2 separate regions of the Homo sapiens genome follow, and region 2 is linked to region 1. The links are contacts of gene promoters, found by promoter capture Hi-C in blood cells and fetal thymus (Javierre and others, 2016). All regions are on one chromosome and are shown on one strand. Each heading gives the region's core, a stretch centred on a gene start or on the middle of the fragment in contact. The rest is flanking DNA. Distances are from core to core; before and after follow the strand shown.

What was found. The method cuts DNA at HindIII sites, captures the fragments that hold promoters and counts their contacts. A CHiCAGO score of 5 or more calls a contact.
Region 2: a contact is called between a fragment that was not itself captured here and the fragment with the promoter of CCDC150 in region 1, in 1 of 17 cell types (non-activated CD4 T cells). The highest score is 6.6, in non-activated CD4 T cells.

What each region holds. Positions count from the first base shown.
Region 1 is chr2:196,635,862-196,643,707 of GRCh38, forward strand. CCDC150 (coiled-coil domain containing 150) reads left to right here and starts at 3,854. Exons shown (of 28, transcript NM_001080539.2): 1 at 3,854-3,917. The coding sequence starts at 3,906. It overlaps LOC105373823 (a long non-coding RNA gene), which reads right to left and starts at 3,824. Exons shown (of 2, transcript XR_923747.3): 1 at 3,535-3,824; 2 at 2,567-2,706. RefSeq lists enhancers at 3,366-3,585, 3,606-3,655, 3,640-4,177, 4,178-4,715. The HindIII fragment of the contact is 4,677 bases long and covers 2,647-7,323 here.
Region 2 is chr2:199,462,016-199,469,861 of GRCh38, forward strand. SATB2-AS1 (SATB2 antisense RNA 1) reads left to right here and starts at 6,083. Exons shown (of 2, transcript NR_026830.1): 1 at 6,083-6,246; 2 at 7,592-7,846. It also overlaps a transcript of SATB2 not described here. RefSeq lists an enhancer at 300-1,065. The HindIII fragment of the contact is 8,458 bases long and covers 180-7,846 here.

The sequences.
Region 1 (7,846 bases), core at 2,604-5,103:
AAGGTACTTTTATTTCTTTTGTATATTCCCAGTGCTTATTTATACAAATATAAAATTCTTATCCCCCCTGGCATTACACAATACCTCACTTGTTCAACTTAAAATATATCCTATAGAATTTTCCATATAAGTACATAGACATTTTCCTCATAAAAAAATTTTTATTGTGAAAATAATTTTAGACACACAGAAAATTTGTAAGAATGGCATAGTAAATACTCACATACCACCACCTGGATTTCCTTATTTTCTTTGATAAACATGGTATTTGATTGTGTGAAGTTAATTCATATATTTCTCATTGAATAGTTAGATGCTGAAAATTCTGTCTTACCCCACTGCTGTCAGATGGGGTGGAGAATGGTAGGAGATGGAGTCTAACCAAAATGCATAAGCTTTGAAGCGAGATAGAGCCAACTCCAAATAACCATTCTGTCACTTATTGGCTGTATGGCCTTTAGGCAAGTTACTTAACTTCCCCCGGTGTCAGTTACTTCATAAGTAAAATGAGAATATAACTACTACACCAAAGGTTACAGTCAGAATCATGTGGTGATATGATAAAGTACAAAAGAGTACTTTAATCTTAGGAAAGGTAAAATAGAGCTGCAGCAGTGTCATCATAGCCTTGACCTTATTCATAAGTTTGGTTAATGGAACAAGGTGAAAATCTACCTGACTATAAAATTTAGTTGGTGGAGCTAAGTGACAGAGACCGTATAAGAAGCACTGTTATCCTTGGCCATTTCAATTAATAGAATTATCTTCTCAGCCGTGGCCGGGCGCGGTGGCTCACGCCTGTAATCCCAGCACTTTGGGAGACGCGAAGTGGGCGGATCACGAGGTCCAGAGATCGAGACCATCCTGGCTAACGTGATGAAACCCCGTCTCTACTAAAAATACAAAAAAATTAGTGGGGCGTGGTGGCGGGCACCTGTGGTCCCAGCTGAGGCAGGAGAATGGTGTGAACCCAGGAGGCAGAGCTTGCAGTGAGCAGAGATCAAGCCACTGCACTCCAGCCTGGGCGACAGAGTGAGACTCCGTCTCAAAAAAAAAAAAGAATTATCTTCTCAGCCTTGGGCTGATTCACCAGTTCATTAAAAAGCCAAAGACTCTTTCAAATCCTAATCTCTATACCCAGAGCCAATACTTTACCAAAATATCTGGATTGCCCACATAAGGTGAGGAGCCAGTTAGTGAATTTGCCATTTTTATTCTTTTATTTTACCAACAAGATATGAAAACTTTGGGTGTTCTGTTTGCATTTCTTTGTCCACGGAATACATTTCCAACTCCAAGGGGAAGTAGTTGCAGGGAACTTTACTGCCATTCGTGTAACTACAATGTCAAATCATCTGCAGCGTATATTCTATTTGGAGGCCTTTTCCTGGCTTACAAGTAGAGAGTGAAACACAGCCTCTATTAGTAGAGCCGTTTCAAAATTTATTCATTCACTCACCTAACAAAAACTTTCCAAACCCCTACTGTGTGCCGGGCATTGTACTTGGTGTTGAAAAGAAAAAAACAAATTCCTGTCCTTAAGTAGCTTACAGCTCAAATAAGGGGAAATAAGATACATTGACAATTATGAAGTGCTTTGGGAGAGAATAGAATGGCTTCACAGAAGAGGCTAAGTTTCTGTTGAGCTGGTGAGACTGACAAGAGGAAGGCCGTGCGCAGCAGAGTGAGCATAACCTGCAAGCACAAAGACATTCTATGGTAGCAGGCTTGACTTCAGAGTTCCACTGGGGCACTAGGTGCAGAGTAGGCTGGAGGGTTTGGCTGAAGCTATTACCAGTTTGGTCTTCATCCTGCTCAATGGAAAACTTTTCGTTCAATGGGGGAACGATTAAATGTTTTTAAGCAAAGACCTGAGATAATCAGATTTACTTTTTTAAAAGATCTGGTAGCCATATGAAGGATACTTTGGAAGGGGTAATAGGAAAACCAGTTAGGAGGTTATCGCAGTGAAACAGAATGTGGTCTTCATGGAATATCTAGGATTTCCGTGAATGAAATGATCTTGTTTGATAAATGGGGTAATGTCTGAGAACTATTTATCAACTGAAAATCAAGAGGGAAATCAGCAAGAAAATCGGTATGTTTGGCATTATTTCAATCAAAATCCTGGCAGAATTTTTGTAGGTATCAACAAGTTGATTCAAAAAATTTGGGAGAAAGGTAAAGGAACTAGAAAGTTAAAGGAACAGCCAAAACAAATTTGAAAAAGGACAAAGTTGGAGGACTATACTCCCTGATTTCAAGTTTATTGAAGACTTCAGGTCCTTTTCTCTAACTCTGTAATTGCTTAAGTTCTTATACGGTTTGCCAGACAGTGAATAAGGGAAAACAAATGAAAAACACGAATTTAATCAGTTTGGTTCCCTGACTGCTGCTTAATATGGAGATTTGAGGAGAAGGTGAAAACTCTCATTACACAAAAACACGTGGATACATGTATCACTCATCTCTTAATTCCACTGATAAACCAGAGGTCATTGCAAGATAAAACATACATAATGAAAATAATTGGCTGTTTGCACTGACGCTTTAAAATACATTTTCATTTCCTATTAAAAGCTTTATTTGGTCCCTTTCTCTGAATAATGTATGCAGTGCTCATTTCTCTTCACCGGATCGGCTCAAAGCTTGATGAATATGGCTGTGGTTTGATGGGCAGTCTCTGCATCTCACATTGAGGCTCCGCTATGAAAAGAATTAGAATAGCAAGATCAATTGTCAGGCTAAGTAAATGAGCTCTCATCTCGGATCTGATTGCTTATATGAGAGGGCTGAAGTGATTCTTGGCTGCACTCTCAGGGAGAAGAGAGAAATGCATTTTAATTGCCCTGGCAGGGATAACAGGTGTTCTGTCCAGCTACCAAAACGCAAAGCCGCGTCTTTGCACTATAGAAGGCTTTCCCTTAAGTGAGAATACATATTCTTAAAGCAAAACAACTCAGAAACGCTGGTGTGGTGATGCACGCCTGTAATCCCAGGACTTTGGGAGGCCGAGGTGGGCGGATGGCTCGAGCCCAAAGAGACCAGCCTGAGCAATATGGTGATGACCCCGCCTCCACGAAAAAATACAAAAATTAGCCAGACGTGGTGGCGCGCGCCTGTGGTCCCAGATACTGGGGAGGCTGAGATGGGAGGATCGCTTGAGCTCGGGAGGTCGAGGCTGCAGTGAGTCGAGATCGCACCACCGTAATCCACCCTTGGCGACAGAGGAAGACCCTATCTCAAAAAAGCAAACCACCAAAAAAACCAGGGACAGCTCAATGCTCTTTTCCGTTTCATAGCTACTTACACTCAGATTTACAAATACCTATTAACTTGTAGACAGGGCAAGAAATAATTTATGCTGAAGAGACGAAAGACCTGAAAACAGATTTCTGTGTTTTACTCTCCATGTGGCCATCATGGACGAGGACGAAGAGGGACTTGATTTTTCCTTTAACGAGAAGAATGTTTAAGCTCTGAATTTTTAACCAATTTTTATGCTCGTTACTCTGCTGTAGGGTATGTATTTACCAAGATTAGCAGAACACCGCGAGTTCACCAGGCGGAGACAAGTCACTGTGAAGTGGGCAGCACAGGACCCCCCGGAGGGCAGGCGCCGGAAACTACATATCCCGGCGTGCCCCGCTCGCGAGCACAGTGGAGCCTGCCGCCATTCGGTTCACGGCGCTACGCATTCCCTGAGCGCCGCCGGATGCCGGCCTGGGTCCCGCCCAGGGCTGAGGGCCCTCCTGGGCCGGGAAAACTACAGTTCCCGACATGCCCTGCCACGGGTGCGCCTGCGTACCGGAGCTACTGCGCCGGGGAGCGGGTTGGTTTAAAATGCTGTGTTAGTTCCACGGAAACCCGCTCGCCTGCTGCAGTACGGAGCCTCAGGCGGACAGATGGACTGTAAGGTGAGGCTGCCGGGCCCCGGGCTGGTGAGGGGTGGTCGGAGGCTCGCGAGGCTTCGGCTCAGATAAGGACAGTCACCACTCCCTGGCGCCCTCTCCCTGTCCTGACGGAGTCCAGTCTCACTCCCTGGACCTCAGGGCCCTGATTTAAGGCGCTTTGGCGTTGGCTGCCGGTGAAAGCCATTTAGGAGCGAAGTTTGCATTGGCCTGGCTCCAGCTGAGGGATGGGAGATAGCCACCGAAGCCTCCAGATAAGCCCAATACCACCTTTATTTATGTGTTAAGTTGGAGTTTAATAGGTTCCTGGGAAGGCTATTTCGGCGTTAATGTTTGATTTTTGCCACCAGTTAATCCTCCCTGGCTTGCTTACCAGAATATAGGTGTCAGGAATTTGCACTTGTTCTTTACGGTTTCCGCAGTACCTGGCGCTCTTGCTAGAACGGAATAGACATTCGTTAAATTCCTGTCGAAGTATTCTCCTGTTTATTTACCACCTATAATTTCCCAGGCACTGTATTAGGCTCTAAAGATAGAAAAATGTCTATTTTTAACCCCACTTTAGAGAAGTTCGTATTAGTCCGTCTTAAATGCCCCCCAACACATGCTTCTAATTTGTTAATCTTGGCGTGCTCAGGACTAGGTCCTTTAATCCTTTGTGTTCTCTGTTATCCCGCCTTATGGTTTTCTTGAGCTCTTCAGAAATTAGTCTCCAGTCCACACCTCACCCCCAAACTTCAGATCCACAAATTCAATAATGTATTTGGTATCTTTCATGTTTTAAATTTGACATTTTAAAAACTACTCTTTATCTTTTCCACAAAACGGATTCTTCCTTAATAAGTTTGCATTGTCTCAGTGATAGCACCATCCAGGCCAAAAACCCTGTAGTAATCTTGGCTTCTTCCTTTCCCTCATATCTCATATCTAATGCATCAGCAAAAGCTATCTTTCAAGTATATCTAACCACTAACCACTTCTTACAGTAGGAATACCGCTGCTGTCACCTTGGTTCTGGCCAGCAGCATCTCTACTTCTGCTTTTGTTCTTCCACCATTTGGAGTGGGAGGGAGTCAAAATGATCCAGTTAAAAGGAAAGTTGGATAGCATTCCTCAGCTATAGACCTCCAGTGACTCTGAGAATCACTGACAGCAAAAGCCAGACTTCTACAATGGCCTTCAAGGCTCTGTGTATTCTGTTTTTTGTTTTTTTGAAACGGAGTCTCGCTCTGTCGCCCAGGCTGGAGTGCAGCAGTCTCAGCTCACTGCAAGCTCCGCCTCCTGGGTTCACACCATTCTCCTGCCTCAGCCATCCGAGTAGCTGAAACTACAGGAGCACGCCACCACGCCCGGCTAATTTTTTTTTTATTTTTATTTTTGTATTTTTAGTGAGACGGGGTTTCGCCGTGTTAGCCAGGATGGTCTCGATCTCCTGACCTCTTGATCTGCCCGCCTCGGCCTTCCAAAGTGCTGGGATTACAGGCGTGAGCCACCGCGCCCAGCCGTATTCTGGTTTTATTATTACCGTCTGACCTCATCTCTCAATGTTCTCTGTGTTACTCCTTCCTCTCCAGCCAAACCCACCTCTTTATTATGTGCGGACTCATCAGACCTTCTAACTTCAGGCCTTTGCACTTGCTGTTTCCGTCTTCTGGGCCTTTCTGCCCTCTGATATCTATATAACAGGTCTTTGCTCAAATGTTATGAGGCCTTCTTTGACCACCCTGTTTAAAATGAAAATCTGCCCTGTAGCCTCCATACCATGTTCTTTCCTATTTCATTTTCCTCCTTTGCACTTATCACCAATAAACAAACTATGTATTTTACTTAGTGTCTGTCTTCTTCAGCTGGAATATAAGCTCCACGAAGGCAGGGAGTTTTGTTCGTACTGTTCTACCCAACCCCTGCCCCCCGCCTCATTGCCTATAACAGTGTGTGGCTCATGGTAAATGTTCAGGAAATATTTGTTAGATGTGTGAGTGAATGAAGACAGTGTTACCATATTATTTTCTAGTGGTTGTGATAAACAACATTGACTCCCTGGACTGTTATTTTGGAACCAACAGCATGTACTTGTATACGCTTTTGCCAGTGTACACCTATTGCCAGGTGTAGGAATGGAGCCTGTGTCCACAGAAGCATGTGTTCTCTTTTCAAAGTCATCTGGTTTTTACTAGTATATTACTTGTGACATTGGTCTTTTTCTTGCCATGCTTTCCATAAGGTTACCTGCCTAGAAGCTCTTTGGAAATATTCTCCCTAAACATCAAGACAGAATTCTGTTAGTTTGATAATAATATATGCATAGAAATTAGTTATGAATGAACTTTTTTAAAAATAAAAGTTTATATCTCAGTATTTTTATTATTGTTACTATCAAGCGTTAGGACTTAGGTTCAAGGCAGCAATCAATATTTGCTCCTTTTCAAACACAACAAAGCACAGATATGTTAAAGCTGTTGTCTCTTTGCTAGAATGTCAGCCATTAGAGGTAGATTGTTTTCATGTAAGACTGTGCTTCTTAGACTATGAGCCATAGAACTATGACTTATGAGGATCTGCCAAGTGGCCATTGGAGAGTGTGCGTGTATTTATGTATGTAGGGGTGTGGGTGGCATTTCTGCTACCACTGCTTTGGGCCTACCAGATGGGGAGGACAGGCAAGGGTATGAGCAACTGCAGTGAAAATGAGAATCTCTCTCTAACTTTAAGCCCCAACTTGGTAGATTAATTTACTGGATTGAAAGTTCTTATCTCATACTTTAACAGCCTCCCAGATACTCGGGGACTCTGCCTGGTGGCTTTAAGGCTGTCCTCTTGCTACTCAGCCATTACCGCCCCCTCCCTTGCTTCCAAGGACTCTCCTGACCTTGGCATTGTTTGGTTTTTGTTTTTGTTTTCCCATGGCGGGAAGTGGAGGTGGTGGTTGGGAGGGAAGGTTTTTAACTAACCCTGAGACTTGTTTTCATTTTTTATTTTTTTTTAGAGACAAGGTCTTGCTTTGTCACCCAGGCTGGGGTGCAGTGGCACAATCATAGCTCACTGCAGCCTCTACCTCCTGGGCTCAAGTGATCCTCCTGCGTCAGCCTCCCAAGTAGCTAGGGCTACAGGCACAGGCCACCATGCCCAGCTCATTTTTAAAAATTTTTGGAAGAGAATAGGGTCCTGCCATGTGGGCCAGGCTGGTCTGGAACTCCTGGCCTCAAGTGATCCTCCCACATAGGCCTTTCAAAAATGCTGGGACTACAGGCATGAGCCACTGTGCCTGGCCATGAGATCTGTTTTTAGTAAATCCCCAAAGGCTAGATTGGCTTATTTAATTTTTGTTTCAGCAACTTTGATGACCTGAACAGGATTCTCAGCGATTGACTAAGAGGATATTTTAAGGACAACACCATGTATTTCACTCAAAAGCTTTGTGCCCTGCCAACCATCAATCAGTGTCCGAGTCACCTCAATCTCCCCCTTCTTAGGGTGAATTTTCTATAAACCTCCTTCCCCTCAGAGGCTGGGCCAAGTTGGTTGCTCCTTTTTGAAAGTATATTTTCTCTATGGAAGCCTGAGAAGCTTCAGTGTAGAGCAGGGTCGGGTGGCACTCAGTGTGGATGCAAACCAAATTCCTACCGCGACATGTTGGACCTTCTTTTTTTTAAAACAAGTGAAGCAATTTAAATGATTTGCTGTTTTGTTTTCATGGCTGAATGTACACATGTCCTGGAGAGCCAATGTAAGCATTTAATACAGATCATAGGTTCCTTAGGGAAATATCAACAAAACTAAACATTTGAACAATTACATGAAAAAATTTTAGTTGGGAATCTGCATCCTATTCAAAATATGTGGGGGAGCTTCTCCATTTCCATTTTTTTCCAAAGACAGACTTTTGCAATATGAGTATTAGTATTATGTGCTTGGCTTCTGATATAAATGAACAT
Region 2 (7,846 bases), core at 3,159-5,658, 2.8 Mb after region 1:
TCTCGCCTGGGCCATCCCGGGCTCTGAGGGCCCGGCATCCATCCCCAAGGTCCATGGCTTTCAAGTTCGGTCACCCAGGCAGAGAGACCCTGCCTTTTAAAGAGCCCTGGAAAGTTGCGCCGCGTTTTCCCTCAACCCTGGAACACGCAGGGAAAACTATGGGAATCGCCCGCGTCAAAAGCTTTCGACGGCTTCTAGGAACCCAAGCGGGCCTGCCTCTTCCCCTGGAGCTTGCCCTCCTGGGGGCGGGAGGAGGGCGGGAGGGAATCATTTCTTTCAAATGAAGCCCACGCCAGCTCTGAAGCCAATTTCCGCCGCGGACTGTCCGTGGAGAGTTGGCGACCAACACTTTCTCGGACGGCATAACCGCGAGGGGCTTAGACTGGAAATCAGATGCGCCAAGAGGACAAGAGCCAGGGGCCAGAATACCCCAGTGGGGGACGCGCCTTGGAGGACGGTTCGCCCAGGGTGGGCTTCAGCCCTTTCCCAGAGTGCTCCGGGCGTCTGGGGACTGACCGGAGCGCAGGGCGGGGGACACTTACTTCGTTATCCGCACGCCTTCCTCGTTGGCATCAGAGCCGGACAAATCCCAACCCGCGCCAGGCAAAGATAAATGACTCCTGGCTCCCCCGGCAGCTCAGGGGGTCTGGGCGGGGGCGGAGAGGGAAGGAAGCCGTCGGCCGCCGGAGGTAGAGACTGTGGAGGTCCTCCTCCCGGCCCCAAGCGAATGAGCCCCTGCGGCCCGAGCAGAGAGATACGCCTCAGAGGGACGACTGATGGGGAAGGATGGTGGGCAACGAGTCTGCGCTAGGCGGTGAGCCTAGCACCCCAGAGGCCCGAGGGTCTGGGGCTAGTGGGGCCGACCGTTCAGGAGCCGGGTGGGCGGGAAGGGAATTGCCAAGGTCGGCCCAGGAGCTGCCTCAGGCGAGGACGGGGAGCTTTCTGCACTGGGCTTCCCGGGGTAGGAGATGGGCGTCGGGTGTGGGCACTGCCTGCCCTGGGGGAAGAAAGCGAGGAGATAGGTTTCAGAGCTGGGGGAGTCGTTGGTGGGAGATCTGGTGTCCCTTCGGCGGCCGCGGGCCGGGGGACCGGGGAAGACGGAGGGTCCTGCGGCCTGGAGCACCACCCTACCACACCAGGCAACGCCCCCCGGGGCGCCCTTCATTCTTTTGCAGAGCCCAGAACTTAATAGGTGGGTCCCCTTCTGCAACCACGCTGCGAGAGAATGACTGCCCTGCTAATCTAGTTTACTTGTAGAAATCGACTGTAAACCGGGACAACAAGGCAAGGGTGGGGGAAGAAAAGGAAGCGCCGAAGGAGCCGCCGCTGCGTCCCCGCCCCCAGCTCGGAGCTGCCGGGGTTGGGGCCCCGGGTGGCGCTCCCGACCCGCCGCGTTTTCCTTAGGGAAACACCGAGTGAGGCAGAGGATCTCAGGCCCAAGGTGGCTGCGAAGAGCCCCGAGGCCTCGGCTTGGCGTCAATGTCCCGCCACCCTCGAGCCCGGGTCACTGCCCGGGTCCCGGCCCGGAGCCCCAGCGTCCTCTCCCGACAGCGCCACCGCGTGGGCTGAGGCCGAAACCTTCGGCGCCGGCTCTGCCGGTCGCGTCCCGGAGCCAACCCTTCCGCGTCGCCTGCAGTCCACGGGTTAAGGATGTGGCGGGGGATGGGCAGGTCCCTGGCCCAGGGTACCACCGGGCCACTCAACACAAAAACGCCCTGGCGCGTGCAAAATACGAACGCCCACAGTTTGTCCCAACCCCTTGAAATGAAAAGTACACCTGGAAAGCCCAAGATAGCACCCGGTCCGCACCCCAAATTTCAGGCAGGCCAGCAGGCGTCCAGAAATCCGCTCCCACCCCTCGTAGGGGCAGGCAAGCTCAGGCAGCCGGGTGCAAGGGGGCCCAAACCGCAGTTGCCTCCCGAACGCTTTGAGGCTATGGGCCCACGCCGGTCTTGAACCAAGCGGAGAGGGCGAAAAAGCCCGCTGCGGGACCCACGGTCCCAGACACCTACTGGAGCCAGGGACGAGGGGGGCAGTGTATCCGGCGGCCCAAACTCGTAAGGAGTGGGGGCCAACTTAGAGGGCTTCCCGAGCTGGCGCCTCGCCTGTTTTCTCGGTATCACGAATCCCCTCGGACACCGTTTCAGTCCGTCAAGACCTTGGCCTCCGGGAAAGGCCCAAGTGACTGTGACGGCGGCGACTCGGGCTCAGTTCTCCCCCACCCCGTGGTGCCTTCCCTCCCCGCCCTACAGCCAAGCCCAGAGGAACAGGGCATCGCCTCGCGCGGTCCCGGAGCCACATCCGGACTTGGGAACCCCGTGTCGGGCTTAGAGGACTTCACTGGGCGGGTTGGGGTTTATTTTCAATAAATTCAGCTGTTCACATACACCCCCACCACCATTTCCACGCGCGCGCGCGCACACACACACACACACACACAGAGGGACTTGTCAACTATTGAGACAGCGACCCAGAAAGGTGTAAATTCACCTGGTGCCCACCCAATTGCAAAGCTCCCAGACCCACACAAAACACTAGCGAGCCCTGGAGGTCTGAGACGCCCCGCGCCCGACTCACGGCGCGAACACCAGCGCTCCGGCCGGGTCGCAGGGGCCGGTGCCCAGCGGGCCGGGGTCTGGCGAGCCAGGCAGCGGGCCGGCTGAGCTCCTGCGCCCCGCGGTCGCGTGGCCTACTCGCCTACTCCCTTATTATTGGCTGGGACCTGTTCCTTTCCAAAGTGTGATGCCCGGTGTCCTACCCTAGGCCACGCGGAGCTCTCTCCCGGCGTGTCGGGCCCTGCGCCCCTGCCCAGTGGCTCACCTCGGCTCGCTGCGCCCGCCTTCGCCCCAAGTGCCCAGGACGGAGCGAGGGGCTGTGGGTCGGCGCAGGGACGCTGGCTGCTCACCTCCAGGAGCCGACAGAAGGTGCCTTCGGCGTCACGCGTCCAACCCTGGGGCTGATTTAAATAACTAATAAGCTCAGAGAAATTTTACGAGGGGAACTTTTCCTTTTAGTATCAATAAAGCCTAGTAATTGGGTTTGTTGGTTACCTAAGCTCGAGTTCGACTTTCTCAGTCTCTCTCTCTCTCTCTCTTTCTCATTCAGAGGCAACGTTTTCAAAAACCGGCAATTGCGTGTGCGTTTGGGGTGTGCAAGTGTGAGTGTAGATGTGTGAAAGTTATTTGTTTCAGCAGTCCTTGTCTCGAGAGCAATCATCATTGTAGCTTTGAGTGAAGAGTTTTCAAAGGTGAACTGTTGTTATTTCTGTCAACAGAAAACTGTTGACAACCATTCAAGTCTCACAATACAAGTATAATATAAGGGAGGGTGGAATATCTAAAGACTGTCCCGTTGGATATGACAGAAAGACATCTGCAGTGTTTCCCTAATAGTTTGCATTTTAATTAACTTTCATTACATTCTGACTTCCACTCAATATCCGTTGTTTTCAGTAAAGACTTCTATATGATAAAACGTTGTAATTTTTGTTCTGGTTTTCCAATCTTCTTGAAAACCAGTTCTTAATTGTAAGGAATTTTTCCACCTGGGAACCATGCCGTAATTTAAAAATATAAAAGACCTTTCATGAACAATAACTGCAAATAACCCATTTGTTAGTGTCTGCGGAGTTGCTGGCACCTATACAAAGTCTCTGAAATATAAAGGCAATCTAAGAATGTTTCTCTCCAACCATAGTGATATATACTTTTTTCGTTTTTGTTGTGTGGAAGTTAAAAACACTTTTAAAGTTACTTTTTAGAAAAGTGTTGTGCTAAAATTTACCTGAACTTAAATTCCTTATCAATGTTAGCCTAACGAAATGAAGAGTATTTCTGAATCAGATTATTGTTAGAGTCATATGCTAAATAGTAAAGGAAAAGAAATGGGAATTAAAGTTTGCAAACCAAGACCAGGGAAAAGTCGGCTCCAGAAGTTACCAGGAACCCACCCAAACCTGTGCACTCATATCTCCTGTATTTACATATTATAGACAACTTTTCCTTTCCACTTTTAGCTAGAAAAGTGGTGGGCTCCCCTTAGTTCGTCTCGTTTTATGCTGTAAGACCCAAAGTCTGCTGAGGGCTGCCCCTGCCAGGTAACTTCCGGAGACCCGGAGTTACTTGGAGACAGACCCGGCCCTTTGCACATTCCAAGTGAAGGACGTCTCGCGCATTCTTCCCAGAGCTACCACACACCTAACCTCTTCTGGACACCCAACAGCTGGGGCACTGGAGCACCTGACCCTACTCAAGATCATCCCCCAGCCCTTGCCGGCACTTAGGGACAGCAGAATCTGAGCTGTGGGTGTACATACTCCCCATTTTCTGCTTTCCCAGAGGATCACAGACAACTTTTCTTCCCATCTGCTCCCGCTGGACTCCTATGATCACCCATCATCCCCAGTTGTTGCTATCTCTGAGCTCTTGGTGACCAGCCCTTGTCCCCCAAGCTGACCAAGTTGAGAGAGTACTTGTCCTCCCAGCACTGTCTCTCAGTATCAGGAAGTTGAGATCAGTGGCAGGGAAAGATGGAAGGATTGGCAAGGAAAGTGCAGGGCCAAGTAGAGTAGCTCAGAGCCTCAGCAATGGGCACCTGTCCTCCCCCAAACAACCTGTGGTCTCTCCGGCTCCCTGCTTTTCCACCATTGGTCCCATCCTGGGCTACCAGCCTCCACTGAGCTGCTCTGGGAACTTAGGGTGTCTCACATTACTTCCCTGCTATGGCATATTTTGGTTTCAGTTGAGCTATTTTCTGAAGATGTGGATACTCCAGTTTTATTCTTTTTCTGTCTGTGTCTCAGTACTCTTTTCCTTTTTTAAGAATGTTCCCCAAGCCTGGCTTTTGCCAGACCCTGTGCCATCTCCCCAAGCTCTATTTACAAGAACAAGAAGTGATTTGTCTGTTTATAGCAGGTTTAATTAAGACAGTTATGCGCCGTGAACTCTTTGGGCCTCAATCAATGCACTTAGATTTGGAAACTCAGATAGAATCACATCTTACACGTGCGGCCCCGGCTGGCCGCCCAGGCTGAGGACAGAGCTATTGTTTTCTACATCAGCCTCACTGGAACTGGGCAAGTCCCCTGCAGAACTGGCACCCCCTGCTCCTCCCAAGAGACCTCAAGTCAGGTCTCCCGGCCAGACTCAGGCCTTTCTAATACAGGCGTGAAGGGCGGGACGCCCAGAGCCCTCTTGTTGGCCGGTGGCTAAGGAGCCAGGTGGATAACTTCTGCGGATTCGGCTTTCAGGCTGCTGGAGCTCTCCCCAGCCCGAGGCCTTAGCCCAGCGCAATCCCTTGTCCAGACCGGCCAGTTTCCGCGTGGCGAAAAAGGGGGAGGCAAGTGTGTCTTTTCCAAGGAGCTTTTATCCAACAGCCTCCCCTCCCCCCAACTCTCAGCCTTAGGTGCCGGGCTTCAGCCGAAGCGTTTTTCAAATTTGTCATCATTGGAAACCTCGGACAAGTGGAGTGTAAAATTTTGAGGGTTTCCAGGTAGGCTCTGACTTCAGGCATTCAATGAAAGGGGAAGAGGGCTGAGGGCGGGGGAGAGAGACAAGCACAGAGGGCTCCCTGTAGTCGGCAGGAATTCCCTCCCTCTGCAGCCCAGCTGCACCCACTAGCACACACTAGTCTTGCCTTCTCCCGGCTTTGGAAGAATCCCCACCACATTCTTTAGCTCTCAGAAAGGAGAGGGCAGTCAGGTCAAGGTCTTTCAGCATCCCTACCGCAATATACCCCTCCCAGCCCCCTCACCACCACCACGTTGGCCTAGGACACAGGACCCCGGGGCCAGGGCCTCAGTGACTGCAGCTTATGCCACCTAATGCAGAATGGGGTGTCCCTGCCTCCACTGCTCCTCTCGGTCTCAGCATCCAGGTCCTGAAACCCCTGCGATTCTGGCCTGGGAAGCCAGACTTGCCACCAACATCATGGTATCACCCATAATTGATCCACTCAGTTTTCAGTAGATGTGGAATCCAACAAGAGTAACACCACCCTCCACGCCCCACTCTTTTTTCTTTCTTTCTTTCTTTCTTTTTCTTTCTCTCTCTCTCTCTCTTTTTTTTTTTTAAGAATCCAAGGCACTTGAAACATTCTGAGTGTGCCTGCAGTAGGGTCTCAGAGGAGTTGCTCTGAAAGCTGTTGAGAGCAGCCACCTTTGCTGTCACTGAGAGCTTGGCAGGGTCAGCTCTGGTGGGCCGTTTGCACCCAGGCTCTGATGGCACCAGGATGGCTTCCTGCAACCCGGTAGGAGGACTGGGGTGGGTGGGTCCAGTATTTCGTTTCTTCCTCTTCCTTTTTTTTTTTTTAATGTCCCTCTTTATTTCTATTGAAGACTAACCTCAGTATCAAAGGGTGCACTTGTTTGTCCTAAATGGCTTGTAGCTCTTTCCTACTCTGCCACAGGACATTAGCTCTGGGAGCACCGCCTGGCAGGGCCTTCGCTTTGGGCCTAAGCATCCAACTGAGGCCCAGCAATTCCACCTGTGGGGAATCTTGCAGTGAGGTATTTGTGCATCAGGAGTGGGGAGTGAGGGAGAGAGAGCTGGGCTGGTGCAGTATCCACTCTCGCACCTCCTCCCTGAGCGGAGCTCCAGTATAGACTAAGTGAATGAATCCATGAATCAGCTCCATAGCCGAGGGGTAGAAGAAGCAGCCGTCTTCGTTAAATGGGCTGTTGGCAGTTGCGGCTGACTGCTCTACCCCTCGCAGGCCCGCCTCTGGGCAGGCCTGAGGTGGCCCTGGAGCCCCGCCAGCAGCCCCCGCCCCTCAGGCCAAGCTCTGGCCCTGGCAATCTCTGCACTTTGTCATCACGCCCGAGTATTTGACATTCGCAATTATCTGCAAATACCCTGATCAGTTTGTATATGAAACACTTTTTTTCCTGCCTTAAGGTTGGAATCTGGTAAGTTTCAGACAAGTGGTTGCAGGGGGAGATGACCCAGGGGACCGTGCGGGACAGGGCCGGTGAACCCGATTCCGCGAGGCGGGCGTCTCGAAGGGACTGGTCTGCGTGCCTCACCGGGTTCCCCAGCCTGGCTCCGAGGAAAGGCCGCGCGGAGGCGAGAAAGGGCCCACATCTCGAGTCTCCAGTCTCTCCTTGAAAAGAGCACCCCCTAATCCCGGAGGAAGGGAGGGTGAAGGAGGAGGGGAGAGCCCACTACAGGCAAGGCAGGAAGGTTAATCATTTTGTTAACCGGAAAGGGTGCTGCCCCGCCTGGCCGTCGTCACCGAGCGTGTCAGTCACCCGCTCTCGATTTCGCCGCAGAATTACCTGCTCAAAGAGCCACCCCAAGAAGCCCTCAGCTCCGAGGTCTTCCCGCCCGTCGTCTGCGGGAAGTAAACGGCGTCCTCCCTCCAAAGAAGTGGATGCCCCTTCGACTCTCCTCCGCCCCCCGGCGGTTCCTAAATCTAGGAAAGCCAGCCCCGGCATCGCTCACTACTCCTGCACCTCAGCTCTGGGATACCCGCTCAGTACAGACAGACCATCAACCAAAAAAGAAAAGAAGAAAAGAAAAGTGGTGGTGGGGGTGGGGGTGGGCAGGGAGCGTAAAGTAGCGAGATCACTTATTTGACTCTTCTGTTTTCTTAGGAACCTGATCCTGGCCCCCGGCAGAGCATAAGGGCCCGAGGCCAGGGACCTAGAGGCCGGACCAAGTTCGCGCGAGGTGTTCACAGCCTAGGCGCCCCGGGCTTGGCTTCGTACTCTGCAACAAGCCAAGCTCCCTTGCCACGAGTATATCAGCAACTTCAGAAATAAACACCAGCGAAACCCCTTCCCACATTAGCTTGTTGCTGTGCTACTGACACTGGGCTTAGTCGATGTTCACACCTATTACATTTTTCC